7 separate regions of the Homo sapiens genome follow, and regions 2, 3, 4, 5, 6 and 7 are each linked to region 1. Evidence: promoter capture Hi-C in 16 types of primary human blood cells and fetal thymus (Javierre and others, 2016). All regions are on one chromosome and are shown on one strand. The core of a region is centred on a gene start or on the middle of the fragment in contact, and the rest is flanking DNA. Distances in the headings are between cores, read along the strand shown.

What was found. The method cuts DNA at HindIII sites, captures the fragments that hold promoters and counts their contacts. A CHiCAGO score of 5 or more calls a contact.
Region 2: a fragment that was not itself captured here is called in contact with the fragment with the promoter of SEMA3D in region 1 in 1 of 17 cell types (megakaryocytes); the score reaches 5.7 in megakaryocytes.
Region 3: a fragment that was not itself captured here is called in contact with the fragment with the promoter of SEMA3D in region 1 in 1 of 17 cell types (megakaryocytes); the score reaches 5.1 in megakaryocytes.
Region 4: a contact is called between a fragment that was not itself captured here and the fragment with the promoter of SEMA3D in region 1, in 1 of 17 cell types (megakaryocytes). The highest score is 5.9, in megakaryocytes.
Region 5: a contact is called between a fragment that was not itself captured here and the fragment with the promoter of SEMA3D in region 1, in 2 of 17 cell types (megakaryocytes and naive B cells). The highest score is 5.9, in megakaryocytes.
Region 6: a fragment that was not itself captured here is called in contact with the fragment with the promoter of SEMA3D in region 1 in 4 of 17 cell types (megakaryocytes, naive B cells, total B cells and 1 more); the score reaches 25.2 in megakaryocytes.
Region 7: a contact is called between a fragment that was not itself captured here and the fragment with the promoter of SEMA3D in region 1, in 1 of 17 cell types (naive B cells). The highest score is 6.4, in naive B cells.

The regions. Positions count from the first base shown.
Region 1 is chr7:85,185,064-85,189,129 of GRCh38, forward strand. It overlaps SEMA3D (semaphorin 3D), which reads right to left and starts at 1,993. Exons shown (of 19, transcript NM_001384900.1): 1 at 1,615-1,993. RefSeq lists a silencer at 1,805-1,864. The HindIII fragment of the contact is 2,551 bases long and covers 444-2,994 here.
Region 2 is chr7:85,692,424-85,696,489 of GRCh38, forward strand. No RefSeq gene overlaps it. Among named protein-coding and RNA genes, the nearest start is that of LINC00972, 270 kb to the left of the region's middle. The HindIII fragment of the contact is 1,530 bases long and covers 1,476-3,005 here.
Region 3 is chr7:85,637,598-85,641,663 of GRCh38, forward strand. No RefSeq gene overlaps it. Among named protein-coding and RNA genes, the nearest start is that of LINC00972, 220 kb to the left of the region's middle. The HindIII fragment of the contact is 3,192 bases long and covers 485-3,676 here.
Region 4 is chr7:85,596,053-85,600,118 of GRCh38, forward strand. No RefSeq gene overlaps it. Among named protein-coding and RNA genes, the nearest start is that of LINC00972, 180 kb to the left of the region's middle. The HindIII fragment of the contact is 1,528 bases long and covers 1,625-3,152 here.
Region 5 is chr7:85,578,528-85,582,593 of GRCh38, forward strand. No RefSeq gene overlaps it. Among named protein-coding and RNA genes, the nearest start is that of LINC00972, 160 kb to the left of the region's middle. The HindIII fragment of the contact is 4,523 bases long and covers 1-3,934 here.
Region 6 is chr7:85,557,553-85,561,618 of GRCh38, forward strand. No RefSeq gene overlaps it. Among named protein-coding and RNA genes, the nearest start is that of LINC00972, 140 kb to the left of the region's middle. The HindIII fragment of the contact is 5,073 bases long and covers 1-4,066 here.
Region 7 is chr7:85,515,430-85,519,495 of GRCh38, forward strand. No RefSeq gene overlaps it. Among named protein-coding and RNA genes, the nearest start is that of LINC00972, 96 kb to the left of the region's middle. The HindIII fragment of the contact is 9,231 bases long and covers 1-4,066 here.

The sequences.
Region 1 (4,066 bases), core at 743-3,242:
AAGGAAAAGGAGAAGGAAAAGGAGAAGGAAAAGGAGAACAAAAAGGAGAAGGCAAGGCATCACTGGAGTGATGACATGTGGCTCTCTCCCTTCTCTGCCCTTCACATTTTTCTTTCCACGTGCAGAACTGGGAAGGCTCTGACCACCCCTGCCCCCGCGGTTGCCATGGTTACACAATAGCAGCAGCACCAGACCCAGGAGATGTCTCAGACCTCTCCTCTACCTCCGCCTCAACCCTTCCCTCTCTGTTAGGAGATCCTCCCCCTCGTCTCTGCGCGCCCCCACCCCGCCATCCCCCGCTAGCGCACACATGCAGGAGAACCCTTTTTAGGCTAAACCGGAAAGTTTAGGTCTTCTCCCCTCTTCTTTTGCTTGTGCAAATAGCACTAAGCTAAACGGAAAGTGGTGGGGTTTTGGTGATGAAATAAGAGTCCACGCACAGAAGCTTGCCTTTTATTACCGCTTCGCTCGAGGCGAAATCGCTGAAAGTTCGGCTATTTAACTCCTGTCCCCATAACTCGGAATCCCGGACACCAGCGGCCCCAGCTGCTGGCGCGCGGCTCTCTTCCAGTCCCCTGGATCCCAAAGCTCCCTGCCACAGCGCGGCGTCTCCTCCTCCTGTCAACTTCCCTCCTTGCACTGTGACGGAGGCAAAGCAACTCAGCCCAGGAGGTTGAACTCGAGTCATCAGAGAAGGAGAAACAGTGCCGAAAACGGCCCGTGCGCTACCAGGGTAGCCCATTAACGCATTAACTCCAGGCTCGTTGGGCAGAAGCCGGGAGGAAACACCCTGGGGACCGCACTCCTGGTTAAATGCCCAGCACGAGTCAAATCCGGCCTTTCCAAAGCGAGCCAAGCCCACTACTACAAAGAGATCCCCCGAGTGTTTTGCCTTAACCACATTTCAGACAGCCAGCTTTGTGGCTGCTGTTTGACTCCAACTTTCCCTCTAAATCTAAAAGGATGCACACTTCCATCAGACGGAACGTCGCGATTCCCCGGCGAAGAAAAAGGCGTCGCCCATTCCTCTTCCAAAACGCTACAACAAAAACCACCACGCTTCCCTTCCTTCTTCCTTGCCCCTTTCCCTTCTCCCAGACCAACAAGGAAAGGAGCGAGCGAGGGCGCAGATGCCCTTTGGTCAAGTACTCCCCGGATGTTCCCGACTAAAGCGTCTCCAAATGAACCTGCAGCCTGCGGAAGCCGGGGACACATTCATAGACGCTCTCTGCTGCCCAGACCAGGAGGGGTGGTGGGGGAACCAGGAAGCCAGGGAGAGAGCAAAGTTCCTGGACGCGTCTCAGGAGGAAAACTTTGTGCAGTGCTGCCAGGCGGAGGCTCGTCAGAAGGCTCCGCAGCTGCTGAGGCGGGGTGGGACTGCGCCCCAGGGGCCGCGCTGAAGCTGGCGCCGCGATTACTGCGCACCGATTTCGCCCACTCTCTGTCCGCTCCCGGGAGCCTTCTCTGTCTCAGGACGGTTCCTTATCTCCCAAACCATGCTCGTCCTCCACTTCGGACCCACAGCCACCCCCAAATCCCGGCTATCCCCGCTTAGCACCGCGGTCTCCAGCACACCCTCCCACTGGAGTAGCAGGTGACCCAAACCAGACTTACCTGCTGTGAACTCTTCTCTCCCTCTCTCTTTTCCTGGTGCCTTTTCAGGGAGAGGGGAACGGGATGCAGGCTGAGGTCCAGCGGCGCGGCAACCCGGGGCACCGGCGCGCGTTCCTCTGAGCCGCAGCCCTGGCTGAGCAAGCGGAGCCGCCGGCAGCCCTGGCAGAGCCGGGAAGCTGCGGCCGCAGGGGCCAGGCCGGGAGGCAGGGGGCGCTGCTGCCTCCCCCGAGAGCCGCGCTAGGACAGGCGGAGAGCAAGGCACCAGCTGGAGCTTTGGGGAGGAGAGGGTGGCGAGGAAAGGCACGCTCCAAACAGGAGGGCGGCTTTTAAGTTTGTGGTGTGACCGCAGCAGCTGTCCTGGGAGAGACTCAGTCTTTCTAAAAAGAGGATGCTGAAAACGCCGGGGATTACCTTTCCCCTTCCGATCTCCTCCCCCAGCCCTCGCCCCCTCCTTCCACTGCGCACGCCAGAACTCCCAAGCGTGCAGAAGTTCATCCCTGCTGCGCGGAGGCTGCCAGCAGCGTGGATTTAGAGGTAGCCCTGGCCAAGCGCTGACGGATGTTTATCAGGACAGGGCACCCTATGTGTAAAGCAACCTCTAACGTCTGATCTTCCTTCTGGGTGACTTGGGGACTTCTTTAGTTCCTTCTCTATACCATAAAACCTGTTAAGGGACCCCATGAGGAAGAAACAGGGAGAGTGACCACAAACACCGTCCTAAAAATGCTAATCCCACAAAACAGTACCTGCGTTCCACTATGTAAAACCTCAATCCACGGTTAATGGCCTTGACAAGGCAGGCATAGGGATGAGGAACAGGGATCAACCCTCCGTTAAGGGGCTGGCACCCGATTAAGACCAAACAGGGAGAGATAAAAACGAGTAGAATGTAATCCTTTCTTCCTCTTTCCCTTACGCCAGACCTACAAAGAGGTGTGCCTCATATCCTTGTCTTCGGGAGTTTTTTAGATTTTTGCACCCCTTATTCACACAGTAGGAACTTAGAAGTATATAATGACGAGAAGATCTAAGTTTTGATGAACCTGGATCCTATGCAATTGGAATAGAGGATCCTCTTTAAGCAAAAGTAATGCAGAAATATCTCACTTCTACAGATTCTGCAAAAATATATGACAATGAGAGTTCATGAGGCCACCGTCAGGGACATTAAAAAGGCCTGTGCATTTGGTGAGCCCTGTACGTTAGGCATTTTTAGCTGCATGGTAAATCCTTTGTGATGGGATATCCAGGTTTATAGTCACACACCTTGCCCTTAGTCCCAAACATAAATCTGACATGAGGTAGAGACATGGAAAGCAAGCAGCCACGGGATCCTGCATTTGTCAGCTTGATTTAAGAGCACAAGGTGTAGGGTCCCAAAGCTTCCTTAGCAAGTAACAAGAGATATCTTGATTTGGAGATGGTGAACAGACAAATGCAGTAATGGAATAACTGAAAGGGGTGGAAGACATTCTTCATTTGACCTTTTATCTGTGGCAGAGGGCTGAGGGCCACAGAAGCTAAAGGAGTCATTTTAAGTTATAAATGGTTGATGGCAGAGTCAGGCTAAGGAAAGGCTCAGGTTTCTCAAATCTGACCAAGGCTCTTTCTTGTGTCTCATGCTGCCCCATCTCTATAACCTTGGTTTGGACTCACAACCAATCAACCCCATAAATACCCTCTTTGGATAGAGAAAAAAATTTTAAATCCTCGTAGACTATTTCAAACTATAGCAACTTTTATTTTTTTTCTGAATGCTTTATATTTAATGTTATACCACTCATTCTGTACATAGTCATGCAATTGTTTATTGTATGTTTCTATGTGTTTATATTATTTTCATTTGTATATGTCATTGCACTTCCATGCAAATTGCAATGTCATTGTGCAAATAAAATATCTCTTTTTTTCTCCCGTATATGGTGGGTTTATAGTAAGTAGTTTTTGATTTTTAGAAAATCTCTATTTTTAAACTTTTAAATAATTTTGTCAGTTTATTGGCCAGAATTTTGTGTTTAACTAGAATTGTGGTTAACTTTGGATTTCCCATTTTCCTCCTTTCTCTTTTAAGTTGTAGCTTAATATGCTTAAACCAAATGACACCTTCCTTTGCTACCATTCAATACTTTCCATAAAGCCCTTACAGAATTAATCACTCCCTCCTGTTTTCCCAAAGCACTTTGATTTCACTACTATAATAAGCTCTTTTCACTTTATATTATAATTAGTTATGCATGTGTCTGCATCCCATACAAAAGTGTTGGCTGTTTTGTGTCTTTGTTTCTTCAGCCTCTAATACAATGCCTGTGACATTGTATTGTACTGATTTAGTTTGAGATGCTCAGACTTCAAATTTAGACAGAATTTACCAGAGTATCCTGAACATATCATGAGAAAACAACATCTGGAACGTGAATTCTGTGCTTTCCTTCCTTTTAATGACTCTGAGCAC
Region 2 (4,066 bases), core at 991-3,490, 510 kb after region 1:
TCTTCTATCTATAGAAGTCTTAGATATTTCCTCTTCTCTAAGAGGCAGAATTGGACAAATTATGCAACTTTCAGGGCCTCAGTTTCCTCATATATAAAATCAGTATAATAATGGTATCTATTTAATATGGTTGAGAAAAGAGTGTTGGAATTAATACATACAAAAAAAACTGTAAAAAGCTTCATGGCACATAATATATGCACAAAATCATAGCAAGGCAGAATAATAGGGTGTCCAAGAGCACAACACTACTAAAAATTAATTGCCTGAGCTCAAATTCAGGACTCCCCCACATCCTAGTGGTGTGACCTGACTTCAAGCTCAGTTTTCATATGTGTAAAAAGGGGATTAAAATAGTACTACCTTACAGAGGCATTTTGCTGAATTGAGACTGTATGTGTAAAACACTTAGGGCAGCTTTGTAAAATTTAGTTACTTTTTTGTAATTGTCATTATGAAATATTTATAAAATTATGCATGTTAGTATCTACATAAAGCATTTTTTTGTTGCATTCAACAGTGTAGCTTTAAAGGCTTTATCATGTTTACTTATAAGGAAAATGGCTAAAAAGTAGAATTCAGGTTCTTGGGTTAGTATTCAAAAGAGAAACTGATGTCTTCTGAGAAGTTTAACGTATCAGCAAAAACATCTACAAGGCAAATTATTATTGCCATGTCATGGCATTATAATAATAGTAATTCTCTAAAAATGATAAAATTTGCTTATAGAAAGAATATGCAGTGATGTGATGTGATATTGGAAACATATCCTGGTTACTTAAAAATAAAAATAATTCTTTTTGCCATGTAAACACACCAAACACATTAAAATCAAGGTAATTGATGGCCCTGTCTGAGAATTTTTGTTTCATATTGTTTACAACTATAGCATTTCATACCTTATGAAATTGAAATATGTAATTTCTCTAAAGGAAGGTGGTTATAATTACATGATGAGACACTGTGAATAAAAATTGTGTAATTATTTGTAATCCCACAAAGTGAATTATTCAATTAGATGTTTCCACATAATGCTGAGCTCAAGAAGGAGTCACCTAATTTGTGCAGCCTGTTTCTCCATTTTCTCAGCCTTCTTATGTGCTTTAGAAGCCTGAGTCAACCAATTAAGTTTGGGATCTCAGGCATTTTTTGCTGAGATCTCATAAATAAATAACTGTCCTTTATTTCTTTTCCCCTGTCCTTTTCCTGTTGTCACCAACCCATGTTTTATAACAGCCACTTCCCTTTAACATTCTTACTCTATGGCCTGTAATGCGCGCACCCTTAATAACCACTTAGTTACTGATGGCCTGCTTCATACAGTAGCTTTATACATATTTCATACATTTTGTGCATTCCTTTAAGTGATTTTTACATCTTCAAGAGATAATCCATTCCACTGCTAAACTATAATAATGATGTCAAATGACACTTTCCAGTGGAAGGAGATTGTATTTATGGAAATTTTTATTGAAAGCTTTTACTTTCCAAAATACTAAAATTTAAATCATGTAAAGGAAGATGTATAATAAATTTAGCTTGATTTTTAATGATAATGTGTCTTATTCTCTGTAGTTGTCTTCTTTATGCTGCACGTCTCTTGTCCATCTGTTCTCCATTTTGTGATGGTGATCCAGGTGGTTCTTCAGTACATGAGTACATGAGACTGCAGGCATTTATAGATGGAGAAGAGCACATGGTAGTCCTATTACCATAATCAGGTTTTGATAGAGAAGAGCACATGGTAGTCCTATTACAGTAATCAGATTTTATGTTGGTTTCAAAGTGAGAAGAGTGTTTTGAAATGCCAAAAGCAATTTCATCCTATAAAAAGACCAAATTGCTATTGAAAACTTTCCTTAGGCAGCAATTAAGCACATTTTTTTTTTTTCCTGGAAGTGATTTTGGTTCAGAGCATAAAAAGAAAGTTAATGATTTGGGGAAAATTTTTCCTAACTCAACATGTCTGTGATAAAACAGTGGGTTTACTGATAGCAGAAAATCATATGATGCAGGGTTTTGAAAATTAATCCTCACTACCATACACAGTGTTTGGCCTATTGGCTAGTAAATTATAGCTTCTGGCTTTTTCTATACTTTTAGCTCTTATAAAATGCAAAATGGCATACACCTGGCTTTTAAAAGCAGTAGTTAATCAAGCACTTGAAATTAATGCTAGCACTCAAAATAATTATGTTTACTTTATCCTAAGTTTTAAATCTTATAGTTTTCAAATATATATAAATAAATTAGTGACACTATTATTGAAATCATATATTTATTTCTTATAAAGAAATGTATGGAAAATGTATTGTTCAATGAGTGTGTTCAGTTCGTTTTGGGAGAACATTTCTGCATGAGAGAATTGCTAATTGTTTTGGGAGAAGACAGTTCTGCATGAGACAATAGTAATCTTGTTTCCAAAATTTTATTACCTTGGGCAAACCATGAATTATTATTGTGCCACTGTTTTTTGAAATCATGTTCAATAATCTGAAGTCAATGTATTTAATCAGAAGTAGTATGAAATGAAGTTTCTTGAATGAAGTGTTTCAAAACAAAATGATATAAATTTTTTATAGCAATATTTTGAAGATAATTTGGTGTATTTTTAAATTTAATATTGCATTGATATTACTGGACTCATTTCTATTTTATTGACACACAAAAAAAATCTTAACATGAAAAGCCTTTCTTTATTCTTAAACCATCATAAATATTTCAAATATATAACCTACTGGTTCTTTTTAAGAAGAAAATAAATTCATGGCACTAGATTTTGGAGGGAGCAGACCAAAGCAACATACCACAAGCATGAGACTTATATAAAAGTTTTTATGATGTGTATCCTGGAAAAAATGTAATTCTACCTGAGAATATATCAGTGTACTTTTACATACCAAAACATAAATAGCATTTATATTTCTTATCTATTAAATAACATACTTTCCCCCAAAACTCCAGGTAAAATTGAAAGAAAGGTCTGCTTAGTTATCTTCTAAGGAAGCTTATATTTTTTCTCACGTTTACAACTAATCTTACGTTTTGCAGCAGTTAGTGCCATATTAGTACCGATTTTTAAAGCTGTTTTACCTGTATAAGATTATAATTTAAACTCCATGCCTTTTTACTTGCATGAGCAACTTCCAGGGCCCTTGCAGAGGACCTAGCAATGTATTCTCATGTACTTGTATTTTCAATACAATGTACCAAAGTAAGTTATTTCAACAAAAATCACTTGAGATTATTGTCTCTTTACTCCAACTTCAATGTCAAGTGGCTTTGAAGTAGTCATGGGCATTTTTGGAATCTGCCTAAGGGCATGTTTGAGATATATCTTGTCGGAGTTTAGTGCAATATCTTTTTATTTACATTTGTAGTCACTTCTGTGCATAGTTAACTTATTGCTCATGGTCTCCTCCTAGCAAAGGTTTCTAGAAGTGCTGTGCCAACTTGTTCAGCATTGTGGCAGGGAGGTACAAAGCCAAAGAGCATATTGCAGTGCAGTATGAAAGACTTGTTTTATGTCATGAAATGTATTAAGCTACTTATTGATGTCTGTAAAAGTCTTTCCATTGGCTGACACTTAGGTCAAAACAAATTTATCCTCTTCAGATATATACTCAACCCTAAAATCCTAGAGCTAAATAATCGTTTATAAACATTTCTTTCATCTGTGCTAAAAGATAACTTCAACTATTTCTCTACAGAGCTAATACAAAAACACTATTATATAAAAAGGTAATGATGTTTACACCAAAAATAGTGGGACAAAATGTATCCTACGATTGTGTCTGGCTGATAATTAAGTTAAAAACACATTTTTATTATTTTTCTGGATTTTTGTAATGTACGTACTATATGTCAGTTTGTTATAATATGTTATTTTTTGTGATTTAGTTTCCCATTTTATATAAATTTTCATTTTCATGCAGTAACTCAATTCATAATGTTTTATTTTTAAACAGAATCCCACAAATTATGTAAGCTCCAGGCCTCACAAAACTGAATCTGCCTCAATTTATAAATAATAATTAATTTATATTTATCTTGGTTATTTTATGAT
Region 3 (4,066 bases), core at 831-3,330, 450 kb after region 1:
TCCATAATAGCCCAGCAGAAAGATCCTGGGCTCCTTATTCTGAAAGGAGCTGTCACTATTTGCTTTTGATCGAAAGGCCAAGAGGGTACAGTAATAACCTATTTTTAGTCCGTGGCTTAATGTGTACAGTTTTGTGCTATTAATCATTTGAAAGACAAAATAAAACTGAATCAAAATGGCATGATTAACCCAACAGTGCCAAGTTTAGGTATTAGTATTTGACAATAAGGACATGCAATAGAAATATTTGGCAATGGTTGTTGCTGTGGGTTTATGCAGATGAGAATGGACAAGTTTTCTCTGAGGCCATGAAAACCACAACATCATTATTATAACAAAAATAACATTAGACAAAGGGTCTTGAGGATTGTATCTGACTTACTGTGAAGAAATTAAGACATTTTTAATCCTTAAATATTGTTTTATTATTTAATCAAATATAAGAGCATGAGAAATTCTGCCACTTAATCTTCTGATGTGATTAAGCTTAGTCTGTTTTGTGAGTGCTACCATGACAGATGATGACTAGACTTGTAGATTTTGGCTACTGATACACCTAACTGGTTTGCTGTCAGTTGAGGTGAGTTACTCTATTATATTCAGATGAGAGCTGGGTACTTAGGATTGCCACTTTTAACTACCATTTCCTCCTACTTGCAGAGGTTAAAAAGCTAAAACACAAAATTTCCCAGAGTCCTTTCCTGGTTCTAAATGTAAAATGCGTTTTGCTCATTGGATATATTTGATGAAATTTTGGAAGGCAAAAATGAGGTTACACTTAGCTTCCTGTGGCTCTTGACTATCACAGCAAGCTAGCAGTATAGATTTATGGGGCTTCCCCACAGTGGTATTCTAATGTCCCCTCCCCAGCTTCCTAAGTATAATAGATACTTACAGAATGATAGTGGTTGTTTCTTGCTCTCAGTATAGCCTCAGAAGAGTAACTGCTATAGTGGTTCAATGCTGTATTATTTATGGAGATATTCAAGGAAGTCATGCATTCCAGGAGCCTATTTTTTTTTTTAGCAATTATAATGACTTCCTAAGCGGTTTAATTCCTTGAGTCAAATATCTTGCTGCTTAGAATGTCCAGAATGGCTTCTATTTTCTTCCCTGGTCCCTAATGGATGAACCCAGTTAAACAGAACTAAACCTCATGACATAGTAAAGAGTGAAATTTCATGTGATTGAGGAAGTACCATCACAGAGATAAAGACTATGTAGTGATATCTATGTCCACATAAAATTTTTTTTGTAAATACCATGTGTTAAATATATTAGCAAAAGTGAGAGAAGCAAGGTCCAAGATAAAAACCCTTGGCTTGTGTTTATTTTTGAAGGACTTAATAGAGTTAGATGGATTTGGTGACTGGGAAAGAGATGACACTAACCTTTGGGCATATGTGTATGCTGGACTTTAAACCATGATCCTTTCTGTTGACCTTAAAAAAATAACATAATGTCCTTTTTTGAAAAGAAGGGGGGTACTTAAATTTTACCTGACTTTGATTTTTTTAAAAAAATGTAAAAATACAAGATATACCTACACACTCTATGTTCAATTCCTAGCTCCCATTTAATGATCTTCAATTCAGAGTAATATTCTGAGGGAAAAAAACATTTTCCACACTGGGCACTCATGTTTCTTTGATGAATGAAGGAAAGCTGTTATTACAGCCAATGAATGTGCATCCTGGACCCCATAAATTCCTGACACTTCCATCAATACCCAGAAAACACGGTTTATCAACAGATTGTAATTTTAGGAGCAATTCATAGACTCTAGAAGATGAGAGTTTAAATGACACTAGACAACACCTGATTTTCTGAATATTAGCTCTTTGTTAGCTTATTTTTTAATGAGTTTTAAAACAGTACCAAGTCTTACTGGCATTATCATCTGGAATTCATTAAATATAACATGTATGCAAGAACTTTTTTAAAGTTACACATTTTTCAGTTTTAGTAAGTGGTGAAAAAGCTGACTCTTAGAATATATTTCCAATCATGTTATTTTATTTTTGCAGTAAAATATGGATTATTTCCCATGTTCACTCAACAGCTCACAGTGACTTTTGAAATTATGAATGGCATACAAAAACAGTCTCTTGCTCTTTTGTGTTGCAGCTGTTACCACTATCTCTGTTTATAGGACTCTATGCATTTTTCATAATCTTTACTCTTAAATAGTGATTTGCATGGCACAAAAATGTACAAATTAAAATAAATTAAATGGCATAGAAATCCCTCAAAGATACAAAGTTTTTAAATGAAGTCCAGTTATTTTCAGATATCCTGAAGATGCAGTTATAAGAACAATGATCATTAAAACATTCATTGTGCTAAACATACAGTGAATAAAGAGAAAATACACCAAAAACACATCTTTAATTTCTTTAGAAGCAAGAATAAAAATTTTATGAAAAATAAAAATACGGTGATGGAAGTGGCCTGGGCTTGGATGTTGAGAAGTATATTTCTGCTATTTACTGCTCTACTGAATATAACTTCTATGCTTGCTTAGAGTTTGAAAAAGTATGCATGTTGTTGACTTACTGATTATTTAGTACAATGCTTCTCTTAGTGCAGCATTGTCACTGGTGACCTCTTTGTCCTAAAATTAAGAAGATATTAAAATAGATATTTTTACTTAATTTGAATTTTTAATATCTGCCTCTGTCAAGCTGCTTCAATGCCTGCCAAAGAGGAATGGAAATGAATAAATTCTAAAAATATTTCTCTTCCATTGGCCTGAAACATTCCTTTGAGACAGAATTGAAAGTTTTAGGGGTTCCTCTTCTATCACAGAGGTGATCTGTTCATACAGTGAGTTGAATGACTAATGCATTAATGTCTGGAAGACAGACAATGGAGATTTTAGCAGAGCTAGCATGTTCCCTCTGCAACCCCCATGCACTCACACTCCCCCAACACACACACTCACTTTTATAAAAGCACCTATCATTTCAAGTTCATGTGGTAATTGTTTACCAGGAATTGCCTTCACTTAAGGGAACAGAAGAAACAAAGAAAAAAAATTATCTGGCAAGAAGGTACATATGCCATTTATCCCTCTTTCTGTTGCTCTTTGTAGACATTCGAAGGATAATACGATCAAACAAATGCTTTATCTTCTATGCCAAAATTTCTCCAAGGAAATATTTCATTCGGCATATGGCTTTGACTTATCCTGTCAACCACCTCTCTTCTCCCACAATTTTTCCTTCTTTATTTCTTTTTTACATTAATATATTACACAAGGGAGTAATATTTTCACAAAGGAATCAAGCCAGGATTTAGAGCTCTTTCCTTAGGCTACTAATCATTTCACAAAATTAATTGATAGTTGCTGATGATTTTTCTCACCACTACTTAACCATTTGCAAGCGGTTTTCTACCCCCTCCCTAATCTGAAAAATATTTCTATCTTCAAAGTCAACAGTGTCTTTCCAATGGCTAATAACAAAGATTTTCTCTCTGCGTTCAATAATGTCACCCACTTATTAAAAATTTTGTTTCTGTGTTTATTTATGCAATATTATGTATTTAGGCTCTTTTTCTACTTTCCTTTCTTTTCTGTCTCCCAGCTTTCTCTTTTCCTGGTGTGTTTTCCACCATTCCTAAAGGTGTTCACCCAAAGTGTGTATCTCTCTTTGTCTTTTTACTCTTTATGATAAGCTTCTGTGATTTCATCATCATAATTTTGAGAGGAATCTAAAATTATACACTTAGTATTAGTCTTTTCTCTCCAGGTCAAACATATGAATTTAAAAATGGGTATGATAACTCTGCACGAATGATGAGGTATCTCAAATCCAGTATGCACTAAACCAAACTCAACATTGTCACTTCTTATGGCAGGCAGAATTTTAACTGTGACCAACATCTCCACTTTCCTGTCTGCACATCTTGCATAATCGCTGGGACTGTGAATATATGAGGAATTTTACTCCATGACTCAGTTATATTTTATGGTGTATTTGACATTAACAAAAAGAGATTACCCAGATAAGCCTAACCTAATAACACCAAAAACTTTAAATCCGAGTCTAGAGGTCAGAGACAG
Region 4 (4,066 bases), core at 1,139-3,638, 410 kb after region 1:
CAAATATTTTGGCATAAAGTGAGCAATGAGTCATCAAGAAAAGATTTTCTTGCTCCTTTCTTGCAGATATTCTCCTGAATTGTGTCCTTGTCTTTCTGTTCTGTTCTCATCCATAGCTGAGAGAGGATTAGAGAGAAAATTTTTGCTTCCTGAAAGTGTCTTGTACTTAGTCAAAGAATTCTGTAAGTGATCTCATCAAGAGAGCTGTGAAAATATTGTTTATGATTATGAATTAAATATGACATATTGTCCACAAAAAGGTAATATTTTCAGTAGATTTTGTTCATTGCGATGATGATTAATTGGCATGTAAGTTATTCCAAAGCAGGCGGATTAACTTCAAGGTTTATCAATGCTTTCAGTAAACTCAGTACATGAGACACAATTTAGAAGCTTCTAAATCCTCTGGTACTTGTTTAAAATACCTTCCTTATTTAATAACTTTTTTTTAAAAAAACACCGCTAATTATTTTAGCTAAGAAAAATAATAAAGATTATGTAGGAAAAAAACGATTTGTAATAAATCTTTTCTTACCAGAAAAGAATCTTATTCATCTACCTATCTATTTTGTCATTTTTATTTGTAACTCTTGAAGGGAATTTTTAGTTTCTTTTCATCAAGTCACATGGGAAGTGTATAGATTGTCTGACCTCGTTCTTGTTATTCTTTATTAATTCTCTTCATAACCTAACTTACCTTTTTAATAAAGTTATTGAACACTTTACTTTCTTGAAATAAAGTATGCTATTTTACTTGAACAATATTCTTGCTTTTCTTCTGAAAAAAGGCAAATTTTGTTATATTTGTTTTCACCCTCAGATTTTTTTGAAAAAGTAAATCAAGACATTTTAGCCCACTGGTTAAATTCTTCTTACTATTCAGGACCATTACGTTGTCATCTGAATAACTGAGGACTACCTTTAATGAGGTGTGCGTGCCTGGTTGCATTAGCTGCCTAACAGATGTCTGAGTGATTAAAGCTCCCCTGAGTACCATAGCTTTGGTATTTCATTGAATCTCATTTGCTTTCTGACCTAGGAGTTCCACTGTATATTCCCAATTGATGCTTTATTTTTCCCTTTCAACTGTTAACTGGATGATCAAAGTAGTTTATAAATATCTTATTATCAAAGGTCATCTTCCTGGAGTTTGTACAAAATTATTCCTTTTATCTTTATCTCCTCTAAAAAATTCCAGTGTCAATGAAACAAATAAAAATATTTAAGAATTTTAAATACCCTATTGAGAGCAGGTGGTTATAGGCGTACCTGGTGTTTTGTTCTGAGTCCCAGAATTGTTGCAAATACAAAGTTGTGCTATTGAACAAACAGACAAAATAATCTTAAATATCTGTAAAATATAGCCAGGCTATGATTTGGAGGTGTCATTGAAATATCCCCACTTCACACAAAGAGCTGGCTTTTTGGACCTAGTTTATCTGCTTCAGAAAAAGGAAGGGGTTGGTTGACAGGATTTAAACCTGTGGCTCCAGGCAGTCTAGGCACTCTAATTTGGATTCTCAGATCACTAAGCCAAGTGTTGTAGCTCTCTGAAACTCTGTATTTATACATAGATAACGATTATACCAATCAAGTTGACATTCTAGCAATAAGAATTTCACCAAGCTTCACTTATACCTTCAAATGTGTTATTGTTTAATCTCATCATGTAAGTCAAGTTGAATGAAAGCCAGCCTTTCCTTTTTTTCCTTCCAATATCAACCATGGGTAATTTTATTTAGCTTTGTTTCTTGCATTTATAGACTCTATTCTCAAAAGACACTGGTACTAGTTTTGATGAAATACAATAATGCTGCTTTAACTATAAAAATATGGAAAGAAGTCACAGTTTTCTCTAATTGCAATAAAAATGATGTAGTATATTGAGATTGGTGTTTGTAAAGAAAAAGTTGTATAACATACATTGGGTGCAATTTTCATATTACATTAAAGGAAAAATCATTTCAAAATATAGTCTTATTTAATCCTCCTTTTCATATTCAGTTGGCTCTAAATCTATCATTCCGCATATTTGACCTATAATACAAGCTAAAGAGTAATTTTCTGGGCATCTAAAGTAGATAAATAGGAAAATATATCTAATATTTTATATTATAATTATATTATTTGAGGTTGCTGTCAATACAGACATTCCCCTCATTAACTTTATTCTTCATTTTACAAGATGTCTTAACAAGTTAATTCATTGATCATTTAATCTCTGTATAAAATTATGATAGGGAAAATGAGATAAGCATCAGGAAAGTTAAAAAAAGAATTTAATGGCAATTTGTAAAACATAAACTCAGAAACATATATAGAAATCTTCCAGTTGAAAAACATATCCATTGTTTATAAAATATAGTATTCAAAGTTTAATGTATATTGAATAAAGGTTCAATAAAAATAGCAGATAATGCTGAATACTTACTTGATATTAGCTATTTTATGTACATATATAATGTGGTAAGTGAAGTAAAACAACGCTAACCACTCGTCTGTGCTCCCAGTTATACTAGATGGCAAATTAACCTTATCTCTAGACTCTGCATAGCAGAAATTTATCAAGACATTTATATTACGATTGAACAGCTTCAAGTTTTAAGGCATTTTTAAAAGAATTTCTTCACTGAGGATGAGGCCTCAAGAAGTGACATTGCTGGCTCACTCTCCAGAGGAGGAAAAAAAGAGAAGGGTTGCACTTTGACCTTGCTGTCCTCTTTTTGAAGACTGTATACTCTGTTATTTTGATTTCTTACTGTTTAACTAAGGTGTTTATAAAATTATCTCATTTAAGGCAAATAATGGCAAGAATGTAGACATTATTTTTAATCATATGACTCCAAATTTGTCCTTATTTTTAATATTTCATTTGAATAAAAGTAAAACATTCACAGGTAAAATTAGTTGTGACATACCTTGCAACCATACTCTATGTCTCCTGTATATCATATCATACATTTCTATCATACATATTCATACATTTCTAGACAAGTTGAATCATACTAAAAAGTCAAATATACCCCACCCCAAATAAGCTGGAATAAAAGAGATTTATATTAAGTGACTAAAGATGAATTTGAAATGAGAAAATCTAAAAAAGATATTTTTGAATGGATTGTACTCCATAAATGAACAAGTTAATAAGTAGAAGCTTTCAGAATTCTCTTATGTGCAAAATATATCAATTATGGCTATTTCCTTTTAGATTTTTTACATGTCTCTCTATATAAGATATAAAAGTCACAATAATTGAGTAATGGAGGCATAGCTTTTAATTATGACAATATGTTAAAACATGAATTTCACTATAAAAATATATCTAGCTATTTATTTTGTAAGATGGTAGAGTATAAAAATAGACTGAGTTATAAAATATCTAAATTTTTATCCAGTGTATTAAAATTCACTATCAACCCACTAATCCTACCTTGCGTTTTTGAACTATGAGTTTTCCAACTTAGGTACTGTTTACTTACTGAGTTGTCAGTAACTGCATAACCTTGTATTATACATTTTTCTATTGCAAAAGCTGAATTAACACTCTAATCATGCCTTACTGCATTTTATTGAAACTCTCTAAATTAACCTTAAAGCTTATGTATGTGAATGCTTTTGATCTCATTCCTCTTTATGATTGATCCTACCATTGATTCTCTCACTATAAATCAAAAAGCAACTGGCATAATTCCAGGAGTCTTGAATAACATTTAGTATTCATTTAAGTAGAAAATAAGCTTTATACTTTATCAAGTGGTGAATTACTTCCGCTGCCTCATTGCAATGTACCATTATGCAAATGGCATTTGTGGAGTTGTGTGGTGCACAGCCTGAGCAGCTATACACACAGGCAAAAAGCAACAAAAATAATCTGTGTTGTAGAGACTCAGTGTAAATATATTCATTCCAATTCTTTATTTTTTAAAGGCATTGCTATAACTACAATAAAAACTAATACTGATTAGGACACTTACAATGTGCTTGGCATTATTCTAAGTATCTGCAATTGATTCTCTTAATCCTCATAACAATACTATGAAGCAAATATTATTATCCTAATTTTACA
Region 5 (4,066 bases), core at 423-2,922, 390 kb after region 1:
ACTTCTCAACTAAATAAGTGGTAGTAAAAAGAAAGTGAAAAATTCATTCATAGATAAAAAGACTAATCTTAATATAATAATAATGGAAATTATTAGAATCCCTAAATTTCAAATAAAATAATCTTGAATTCCTGGGAAAATATTTTTATTTTGTTTTGCCAAAGGCCTTATACTTTTCAAGTATTTCCTAAGATGCGTAATATCAGAAAAAAATATATAAGCAAATTTCTTTCCATGTGACCAGTTTAAGAAATCATAAACTCTGAAAAGCCAAAATGCATTCAAAAGAAAAGACAATTTAGAAAGAAAATTCAGGCATCTATTATCTCTATCTTAGATTTAAAAATAAACCGTGAATGACAAAACTAGACATTCTCTCTGTACTGTTACTGAGAAATAAAAAAGCTGAGCTAACGCATACTCAAAAATACAGATGCCAATTTATGTAAAACACTGTCTGACAAAAAGAAAGTGAAAAAGAAAGTGAGTTTAAAAGTTGATTTACTGTGTGTTTATTCTAAACGTAAAAAAATAAAAACAAATGAAACCATAATAATTTTGTTTGTAATGTTACCTTAACTAAAACCCTTCACAGTTTACATATGCAAGATCATTATTTTATCAAAACTTGTAATTACAAAATAAACTTTGAACTTGTACAGTCTGCATCTTCCAAAAATACTTTTTAAGCCTATCTTTATTCTAATGAAGAATCATTGACAATAATCAGAAGATGGCCTGATGGAATTTATCATATGTATTCTGTATATTTTCTTCAGTCTTAACATGTTCAGTCTTAACAGTTTCTCTCTCTCATTAAAAAGGATTGAATTTTAAAAGGCAGGACATTTTAAAAATTACTTTAAACCAGTTAATACTCATTGTATGCATGTATATGGCTGAGGGTCACGGTAGTTGGATTCCCAAGGCTCATAAGGATGTTTTAGGCATGTATAAGCAGAAGCATAACACATCATTCATTGCCAGTGGTACACTCCTGTGTGTGCTCTTGAGTCAGAATAATCTGAATAATCTGTGTTCAAATTTGTGCCCTATGATTTATAAACTGTGTTTTCTTCATTTACATCTAAAGTCTCAGTTTTCTCCTCTATAAAATAATACCTATGTCATGTTGTTTTGTAATGATTGAATGTAATAATTCACAAAATAATCTACTTAATATAGTTCCTAGAATATAATGCACACTAAATTCATATAAGTTGTTTTTGTTATTGGATTTTTCTTCTTATTATCAAATATAGTGAAAATCACAGACCCAGTCCTTTCCACATTTTAAATGGTTGAATTACAAGTCATTAATCTAATTGGAAAACAAATAAGACTTAGTAAAAAAAAGAGGAATGAGTTGAGTTCAACCAATTTATTAGCATTTGATCTTTTGCAATTTACTTAATTTCTCCAATAATTGTAAACTAGAAATAATAATAATAACTTGACTCATAGCATGAATGAGAAATATTGTGGTGGTGCTTAAGATACTAAAGGACACATAACAGAGACTCCGTTATTGGTAAGTTTCTCTCTCTTTTAAAAGTTTATTCAATTCTATACCTGACAAAGAGACTGTTTTTTCCTGTAAGTGATAAAAAATTTTGAGGTAAAACTTGGTCTCATGTACATCAAGCGCCAAATGTCATTTTGAAAAACAAATAATTGGGAAGGATAGACCGGCTTATGAGTATTTTTAAAATTCTAATACAAATACAGTTTCCCAAAAAAATAAACTATGAAGCCTTTATAGAAATAATAGCTATATTGTACACATGCTTTTGAAATTTTCCTTAAATTCACAATGAGACTGAAACTGGGGTATGAGCCTAAGGTTCTCAAACCCCATTTTGTTCACAAAATTTTTATGCTTAAAGCATTGGACAAATAAAATTTGCATCAGTGATTCTGATTCATAACATTCACATTCATAGCCTTAATTGGTTGGATTTTACTCAAAAGTTAAAGTTGCTTGATAAGGATTTTAGCTTAGGGAAGTTTTTTACAATTCACATTACTCCATTCAAATAATTTCTCTTTAGGCTTTTGGATGGGTTTGGAGAGACAAGGAAAGAAAGATCACCAATTATGTATTCCACCCATGGCAACGGGGAATTTATTTGGGAATTTATAGAACAAAACAATGATTATCTTAAACAAATGAAGATTTAATACAGTGTTTAAAAATGTGTTGGTTCATGTTCTAATTGGAAAATAAAATTTGCAATTAGCAAAATTATATTTCCATTTAGACACTACAAAATAAGACATATCCAAGTGTACCCAGGGAATCTTTCTTTTGATTATTTCTTTTGCAAATCCATTAAGCTCATACAACCTTTGCAAATAATGTGACTGATAATTTATGATGTCTATGCTTTAATTATTAGATAAATGGGCAGATTAAAAAAATAAATTACTCCAGCTAAACTTTATTTGACAAGTATGTTCAATTTATACTGTAGTACTTTTAGTCTAATTTATATATGTTATTTTTTACACATATATAATATAATTAATTATAAACACTTGACTATATTTTTCAAAAAAAATTGATTGAGTTTGTACTGCAGATTTGTGTGATTGAAAAGTGTAGTTTCACAATGTGTACCTAAAATGAAAATAATGTTTGGAAAAAATAATTACTTTGAAAAATTTCTTAATTCTTAAAGTATTGAGATTATACATGTCACTTGCCAATAACATTACATCATGCTGAGGTGGGCTTGACGTAGTTGTAGACCTGGACCACGTAACTAAAGTTACATGGTCCTTGAGTCATTGAGTCATTGAGTATAATGGCAGTGAGAGTCTCTCTCTCTCTCATTCTGTTGCACCCTTGCTCGCTCTTGCTGTTAATCTCTGCTGATTCCATATAGTTAAATGTGTGATTGTTATATTTCCACAGTAACAGATATAGTACCATGTTTTTGTATGTGTGTGCTATTCTAGTCCGTACTGAAAGGTTACAAATCAGAGTTTAAACCAAATTTCAGAAAGCAAGGTATAATCTAAATGTAGCTTTAAACATAAACATGTATGTATATACACACATATATATATACATGTGTGTATATATGTGTGTATGAATATATACACATATAGCTTTCTTCTCTTCCCAAAAGTCCTAGCCCTGATTTTGACACTTTTAATGTGCTGCAGAAAGCTGAAAGTGTATGAATAGTGATAAGATTTGTGTTTTTAACTTTATAAAACATTAGGTGGTTTATAGTTAGGTTTTTAACCTTTTGAAAAATTTAACCTTTTTTAAAGTGCTGAATTAGTGCACTGTAAGATTAAAAGAAAACATAAAACGTATTAACTCTTGAAATCTAATATATGACTTGACCAAATGATGATAATATCTGTTCTAAGAACTAAGCTAGTTTGGCTTTTGTGAAACCCCTAGGTTCATATTATGCATGCAGTACCCTGTGTAACTTTTAAGGATGACTAGTCATGGAATCTATTATCTATTCCCATTGAACATGATATTCTAGCATAAATTAGATTTTTCAGATTTCATACAAGGTGAGGTTGGGTAGATGTTTAACTGTGGCAAAATATTCAAATATTCAGGTCTTTATAAAGCCCATGATAAACTATTATGAGTAAATGTACTATTTTACTAATTTTTTAAAGCAGAAATATCCTATACTTGCCTGTACTCTGGCATTAGAAGTTTTAAGAATGTTTGAAATGTAGAACTTTCTTACATAAATACTTTTTTCATCCAAAAAAATTTAATTAACATATAGAGTGTGCAATAATGAACATCAAATCAGTATCTTCACACTTGCTCCCAACTTGCTTATCTAAATTATTTTACTCAACCGAGTCTTGAGATCTTGTAACTTCTTGCTAAATGTGCGATTTTTAAAATATTCTATTTTATCTTATTTTATTGCCAAAGGTCTGCTTTGTAAGCTTCAGGTCATGTTTCCCCCCAAACTCTAGGTAAAATATATCCTTGGCTGTGTGCTTGGTTCATTGGATCTTTTAAAATTGATAACTCACTATGTAAATTTGAACAAAAAGGAAAGCGGATGATACTATT
Region 6 (4,066 bases), core at 448-2,947, 370 kb after region 1:
AGTAGCCTTAGGACCTAGCAGGTGTCTCATATTACTATCCCCAATAAATATATATTGATAAATGAATTTATAAATAAGTATCTACTGAATATTTTTTCTTTATTAGTTCTCTAATTATCCTTATCCTCCATTTTGAGTTTGATCTTCATATCCTTTATTAGACACTGCTCTTTTACCTACAATAACATGCATTCTCTCCCTCCTAAGTAACAAATATACTCAAAGTAACAAGACTTGCAGCTACAGGTTGGTTTTGTTTGGCCTCTCTGTGGCTATATGACTAGAAATGGCTTTGTGACTATTCCTATCCAATGATAAGTAAGTGGAAGTGTCTAGGAGTAGTTCGAGGAAGTCTTCTTAAAAAGAAGATAGTAGGCTTTCTTCACCCTTTTTGCTTTTTGATGCTGGAACACAAGTGTAATGACTCAATTTCCATCAGCCATGTTAGGACACAAAATGACTTCTAAAATGAAGGCCATGAACAAGACGGTGAAGTAGCAAGATAAAAAGAACCTGTGTTTATGACATAACTAAATCATTATATTATCTCTGAACTAAATTTCTCAGAAATTAATTGGAGAGATAAACAAAGAACACTGAATTCTCATAGAAACTACTATAATCATACAAACTGCTCCTATTTCTTATCAAATATAGCATAACCCAATATTAACCAATATTGTTTCCACCATTTCTTGCTGTTCCAACTTTATTTTCCAAGGTCATTTTATTTCCTCTCATGGTCACCATTTGTTTCTATTATGCACTGTATCTTCAGCCTGATCTTCTAAATCAATTACTGATTAAGGATTTCTCAGGGCCCAATACCGTCTTCTTGGGGGACTTGTACAGGTTTTGAGCCTCTCCAAATATCAAAGCCCGGTATATCTGCATGTGGTTATTGTCTTCTGTTTCTGAAGCCTCTTTCAGTTGTATTCCAGAAATAGCGCAAGTTCTCCAAGCCAAAAAAAGCTCTTCCTTTATCTTGGAGATAAGGAAAAATTACAAACAGACCCCTTTAGCAGATTTGTCTGTAGAATGTATTTCTTTTATTCTGGGTTTAGCGTTTTTCTGATATATGTCACTGGGATTCATGACTACATGGAAATATCAGGCATCTGTATAATTCACTTTGTGAAGTTTGAGACTTTGTCCACTTCATAAGATACTTGCCCCAAAATATGATGGTGTAGGTAGCTCCCTGGCATCACAGGTGTGGAATGGAAATCACTTATACGTATGAAATTCTGTATAGTTTACAAAGTTTGCCATTAATTATCTGATTGCAGCCTCACAAAACTTAGTGAGGAAAGAACCAGCATTACTACTTATATATTGCACAAAAAAGGATTGAGACTCAGGGAACTTGCCCAAAGAAAATAAGAATAATTAAATTCGACACAGGTGTTTTTAATGCCAAGTCCTATGATCCTTCATTTTAACATTTCTTTGGACCTCTACTGAGCAAAATTTGAACTTGGAATACATTTATTATGAGGGCATTAGTAAAATCTTTCATTTTAATATCAACAGGAAATTATTAATCCCCAAATACCTTTTGCCTGGTTTAATCTTGAATATGGACTAAGTCATGTTGCAGTAAATGATGGGCTAAAGATTTCAGTAGCTTAAAACCACAAAAGTTTATTTACTGATGCCTTTTAATACATACCCTGAGTAGATAAGCTGGAGTAATATGTTAAGTCAGTCAGAGACACAGGCTGATGGAAGCATCGTCTTGATTCACGTGTCCACAATCACTGTCTCAGTTCTTGCTACAGGGCCCTGTACTAATAAATGCTTCCACCTGAAAGTGACTGTCTTCATTGATGCTCATATTTTACTGGTCAACACAAGTCACATGGCCCCAAGGAATGTGTGTTAGTTTCCTAGGGCTGCTGTAAGTAATTACCATTAACTTAGTAGGTTAAAATAACAACAACAACAACAACAACAAATGCTTTCACAGTTATGGAAGGCAGAAATCTAAAATCAAGGTGTGAGCAGGGCCATTCTCTCTGAAGCCTCTAAAGAGAATCTTTCCTTGTCTCCTCTAGTTTCTAGTGGCTCCAGGTGCTTCTTAGCTTGTGGCTGCATAACTTCAGTATCTGCCAGTGTCTTCGCATGACCTTCTCTTCTGTTTGCTAAAAGATACTTATAATTGGACTTAGGAGGATGGATGCAACCAGATAATCCAAGATTATCTTATATTAGTATGTGTCTTGTTGGGATAAACCCTAAATATTCACTTGCCATTTGAGTTTAATTTCTGCTGCTTTTGCAGGGCTCATATAATTTGGCTTCAATTTGGGTGACTGATGGTATCCTAGTTTCCCTTTTGGAATGGAAGTCAATACTTTCCCTGCCTCTGCACCCCCTCCCACCACTCTACTTAAGGCCAACCCACATATTTCCATATTTCCGTATCTCTATATTTCCATATCTCTTATATATGGGACATCGTAGGCAGAATTCTAAGATGGTACCCAAGATTACTGCTCCTTGATTTACATAGTCTATGTAATCTCCTTCCCTTGAATGTAGCAAAATCTATGAAAATGATGAGATGTCACTCCCATGATTATGCCCTGGTATATGGCAGATGTTGTTTTAAAGATATAACATTCTTAATCAGTTGATACTGAGTTATTGAAAAAGGAGGTTATTCTGGGAGAATCGAACCAAATCATGTAAGCTCTTAAAAGAAGTCAGCAATTTGAAGCCAGAAACACTCACCTACTAGCTTTGAGAAAGCAACAGGCCATGTTGTTGAGACTGCCACGTGTCAGAGAATGATGGGCATCCTCTAAGAGCTGAGGAATTCAGTCCTACAACCACAAGGAAGTGAATTCTGCCAACAATTTGAATGTGCTTGGAAGTGAACCCTGAGCCCAAATGACAATTGGATTTGGCTGATACTTGGATTTCAGTTTTGTGAGATCCTGAGTAGAGAACCTCTTATGGTAAACCGGATTCTGAGCTACAGAACTGTGAGATAATAAATGAGTGTTGTTTTAAGCTGCTACATTGGCTGTAATTTGTTATATACCAATAAACAACTAATATACGGAGCATTCTACTTCTTATTGCCTAGTAATGTTTGGCTTTAGCTTCAAACAAATTAGCCACAACAGTAGCCTAAACAGTGATACTGTCACACATGTAACTCATTGACTTACTGTTTTAAAAAATGACAGCTTCCAATTTTTATCTGTGGAATTATAACCCCCTTATAAGTATTGATGCTGGCCCATGATACATCTAAATATGTCACATCCCTTTGAACACTGGTTTTTTATTCTGCCCCTGGTCATAAAGCTCACCCATGGTGTAACATTAAGCCAATTATGATCCATTCTCTGATTTCTGGTTTCTTTCTTTTTCGGAGTAATTACTGATGGGAATTCCTGTCTATTTAGCAGCAAAGCCAGGAGGGATTGCAACAAACATATGGTTAAATTGATTAAAATTGTAAGAGAGTGGTAAATGAAGATGCCACTCTTGGTTACCATCAATGAGATTTCTAATAAGATATTGCTTAGAGTAGAAAAAAATAGATGGTTTTAGATTATGTGAATTCAATCATATAATAGCAGCAGAACTGCACATCTAGCATTTTCTTTGTTTTGACATAAAATAAGTTTTAATTTTCACTGAGTTTTGTACTTCTGATTATACGGGTATTTTTCCCTTTTATTTCATTGTGTAAACATCTAATAATTTCCTATTAGAACTTTGGTTACATTTGTGTGTATTTATATATAATCCTCTCATTTTATTCTTTAAAATATGCATAGTTTTGAATTCCTTTAAACCCATTTGTACTGCACACCTCTGTATATCATGTCAGTAGTGAAAAGTTCATCCCAAGAACAAAGATGATGAAGAGGACACCACAGCAGGGAAATTTAAAATAAAAGAAAAAACATATTTATTAGCATGGCTATAAGAAGGAGAGAGATGTATATTGTGTAGAAGACCTTCTGCCAACTCCTCAATTTAAACTCCCAACAGTCCTCATTCAAAATAGAAAGAATCCCTCCCCATTTGATGTAAATTCCTTTGC
Region 7 (4,066 bases), core at 1,034-3,533, 330 kb after region 1:
CTGTTTTTGGACAGCAGGCAAGAAGAACATGGTTGGGCAATAATATTTTCTGCCAGAATTTCAAATAACTGGTATGAAAATAACTACACTTTGGCACAATGTTTTGACCACTCTTCCTTTTTGAATGTAACTTTTCCTGAAATTTACTTTTTGTTTCTATTTGCTCAACCCAAGTTTATATTTATAGTATGCTACTGGCTGTGCTTTCACCCTCCATTTCTCCTCACCCCAAATCCTAGAACTTCCAAAATACATTATTATAACTTTAGCACTTTAGCCTCTTTTGGAGTTGATTGCAATTTCCAGTTCAATCAATTTTATATGCTACCATTCTGAACTCCATACTATAACCCCAATATGATTGTGTGTAATTACAGAGGGATTCTGAAAAATTCCTGTAAATATTACTTCTATCTAGATTATAACATCATATTGATCAACTTCTTGTTTTGTTTTACTCAGAGCTTTAGAGAAAATGTGCATGGCTTTAGAGACAAACCTCTTCATGTAAAATCTAGCAGCTATATAATTTTGAATGGCCAAATTCCTCAACTCTTTGGAGCTTTTAAAGAGTTGCCATATTGTACAACCTCACAGAGCACCGTTTACATGGACTCCAGTATAAATGACACTTTCCAGAGGGGCTACATGGTGGTTATAATATTTGTATCAACTATAAGTAACAAGACATTTAACAGGGTATATCCTGTTGTCTAAAAATCTTATACAAATTCCTGCAACTGAGAATAATAGCTGATAACTGCTTGACGTCTACTAAACTCACCCATTCAGAACATATTAGATAGCAGTACTAGTGTGCCTATCATCAACCTCCAATTCAAATTCAAACTATGTCAAAGAAGACTAGAAATTAGGAGATCATTTTATCACAGTAAGAGTGTTTTAGATTTCTTCTCTCCCCATGAGGTTGTAGGAGTATATTCTACAGTTGCATAAAGTCAAAAGGTATGGTACAAGAGAATTTCTTATAAGTATGGGCTTTCAAGAAGGGAACACTCTTATCTTACTGCCTGCCTTAGTACAGAAACCAGAGACAAATGCTATGAAAGGTCTTTTTGGCAAAATGGACATGCATTCCATAAAAACATTGAGCTAACCAAGAATACAGAGACTGCTGGCTGCTTTCTACCTGAGAAGTTCTTTAAATAGAGGTTGCTTGGAGCTGCGTCTAACAGCATGGCAAAGAGAAAGGGCACTGGCAGCAGCAACCTTCACAGCCATCTTCTGGCGTGGCAAGGATGAATGAGTATTCCATGGAGCCAAGTGAAAACAAAAAGGTCATTTCAAGCCATATTTATCTAAGAAGGTTTCTGTTGAACTGCAAAGACTTTAGCATTAGAGGCCGTAGTTCTGCTAGGGACAGAAAGTGAGTAGTTTCAAGAACTGAGCCAAGGAATGACACATCCATGTTAGAAAAGACAGCAGTGAGGAAATCCTTGATGGCCTTATAAGGACCTAAACATTTACTATATAAGAGTTAGTATTTGGACACTTCTTTTAGTAGAACACAGAGTAGCTAGGTAATGTTAACTAGGAGACCAGAGCAGCATAAGTAAAAATATCTGAATCTCTAGGTCTCCAGATTCTCCTTATTTTTGCTCTGACTCTGGAAGTAGAGTGGGGCATGGGGGCCTGAGTCTAGAAGAGTGAGAGACAATTTTATGTCCCTCCTTTTCTTATAGGAGGGTGTCTATAAACAGGAGTCAGACTTGGACTGAAGGAATCAAATTTGTTTTTACTAGATATAAAGTTGAAGTTTTAAATTCATATTAGATTAAATATTTTAGTTCTTTAAAAAATGAGTTCATGAATCAAACTATATCGCTGAATGATATCTTTATAAAATAAATGCTGAACCATATCATTATTAAACGTCTATTTTCACTGAAATAAGTATGATGTAAATCTGGGTGGACTCCCAAGTCGATTTCAACTTACTAGAATGATATTATATATTTATGAGATAGAGACGCCATCCCTATCTGGCTTGTCATTAGTTCTTTATTATTTCCTAATAAAATTTCTGGAAGTTTCTAAATAAACATATATTAAAAATAAGTAGTTTATTAAATATCTTTTTTGTACTTATCAGTCTCATATGTATACAAAATAAAGTACCTAAAAGAATAAGAGACTATTCACAAGTAATTTACATTTGATTAACAGAAAAAAGCAGATACAATTTAATAAATGTGTCAATAATTTAACATATACTTTAAAATATACGATTTAAAATATATGATTTAATAAACTAGTATAGGTCATAAGATACTTTCTTTTTCAAAGTAAATTAGTTATGCATGAACAATCAACCAAAAATATTAAGGATAATGTAACACTAAAAATCTGAGAAGCCCATATGAATATTCTTGTAGTCATATCTCTGCCCTTGAAAAAGCAAGTAAAGCATCTTAAGATAATAAATATTCTTTTAGGTTTTGCATAGAAAATATTTATGTTTTCTTTCTGATTCTCTTTTGCTTCATTTTTTGTCATGATATCATTCTCCATTAAACAGAAGATCCACGGTATACTTGAGGTCAGTTTCCTCTAAAGATTTCTTTTTTTTTTTGAAATGTTTTTAAAATGATCTATCATGCAAAGACATTTTAAGAGTTTACTATTAATCAGATTGAATTTTAGAAAATATAAACCTTTATGCTCATATTATAAAAAAATTTCACAGTAAATCAAAAGTGAACATACTTTCTTTTAGAAAGTAAAATAAAGATAGAATCCAAATTTCAAACTCAACTACTAGAAAAAAACCAACAAATTCTAATTTCGGGGGAACACTTAGAATATTTTATATTTAAACAATGAACAAATAAGATAGCTTTCCAACTCTAGCAGGAGTTACATATCTAAATTATTTATAGAAAAATTAAATATGATTTCTAAGCAAAATAATCTATCCACAAGGGATGGCACAAAAATAATTAATCTTTATTTCAGAATTTTACTCATATTTTTGAATATACAATTTGTTCCATTTGGAGTAGAAATGTTTGGATGGGCCACCTTGGCAGCAAGAAAACAGTTGCATATATTCCCTTCTGGAAGAAATTACAAATGGAATAACTTCCTTTTAAGAAAAAGCAAAACTATAATTCTTTATAAGATGATAGAAAATTATTTAAAAAATCAAAGTAACTTATCATTTGCCTGTGCTATATGTGTGATATTTGTAGTTGGTATTTGAAAAAGAACATGAGAAGGGAGAGGAAGAGAGAGAGACAGAATGAGGGAGAAAGTTCGGGGAGAAGGAAGGAGGGAGGCAGACAGAGATAGAAGGAGGAAGAAAAGCAGGAGAAAGGATAGAAGAAGGAAGGAAACTGAGTAATTTATATTACAAGGGAACAACAACAACAACAAAACACTATGCCAAATCCAATGGCTAAGCATGTGATATAAAATTTTGGTACAAAATATGTGGTATAGAGGTTACATGCTTCTTTAGAATGTAAGTACCTCAATGGCATAGACCATAAACGGCACAATTTTTGTTTGTTTGTTTGTTTGTTTGTTTGTTTGAGATGGAGTCTCGCTCTTTCACGCAGGCTGGAGTCCAGTGGCGCGATCTCAGCTCACTGCAAGCTCCGCCTCCCGGGTTCACGCCATTCTCCTGCGTCAGCCTCCCCAGTAGCTGGGACTACAGGGGCCCAACACCACGCCTGGCTAATTTTTTTGTATTTTTAGTAGAGACGGGGTTTCACCGTGTTAGCCAGGATGGTCTTGATCTCCTGACCTCGTGACCCTCCCGCCTTGGCCTCCCAAAGTGCTGGGATTACAGGAGTGAGCCACCGCGCCCGGCCGGCACAATTCTTAAGAATGTTTATTCCTAATAATGTTTTGCAGCATAGTGGAAAGAACTACAATAAGCTAGTGTCCGGGAGTATTTGATTTGGATCTGGCTGCATAACCAGTTTACTACTAAGGAGATATGGATAAATTCTGTTAATATCACTAGACTTCAGCTGCTTCACACGTTGTTCTGCTAAAAATAAAATATCTAACAAAAATACCATTGAGGTATTAAAAGTAG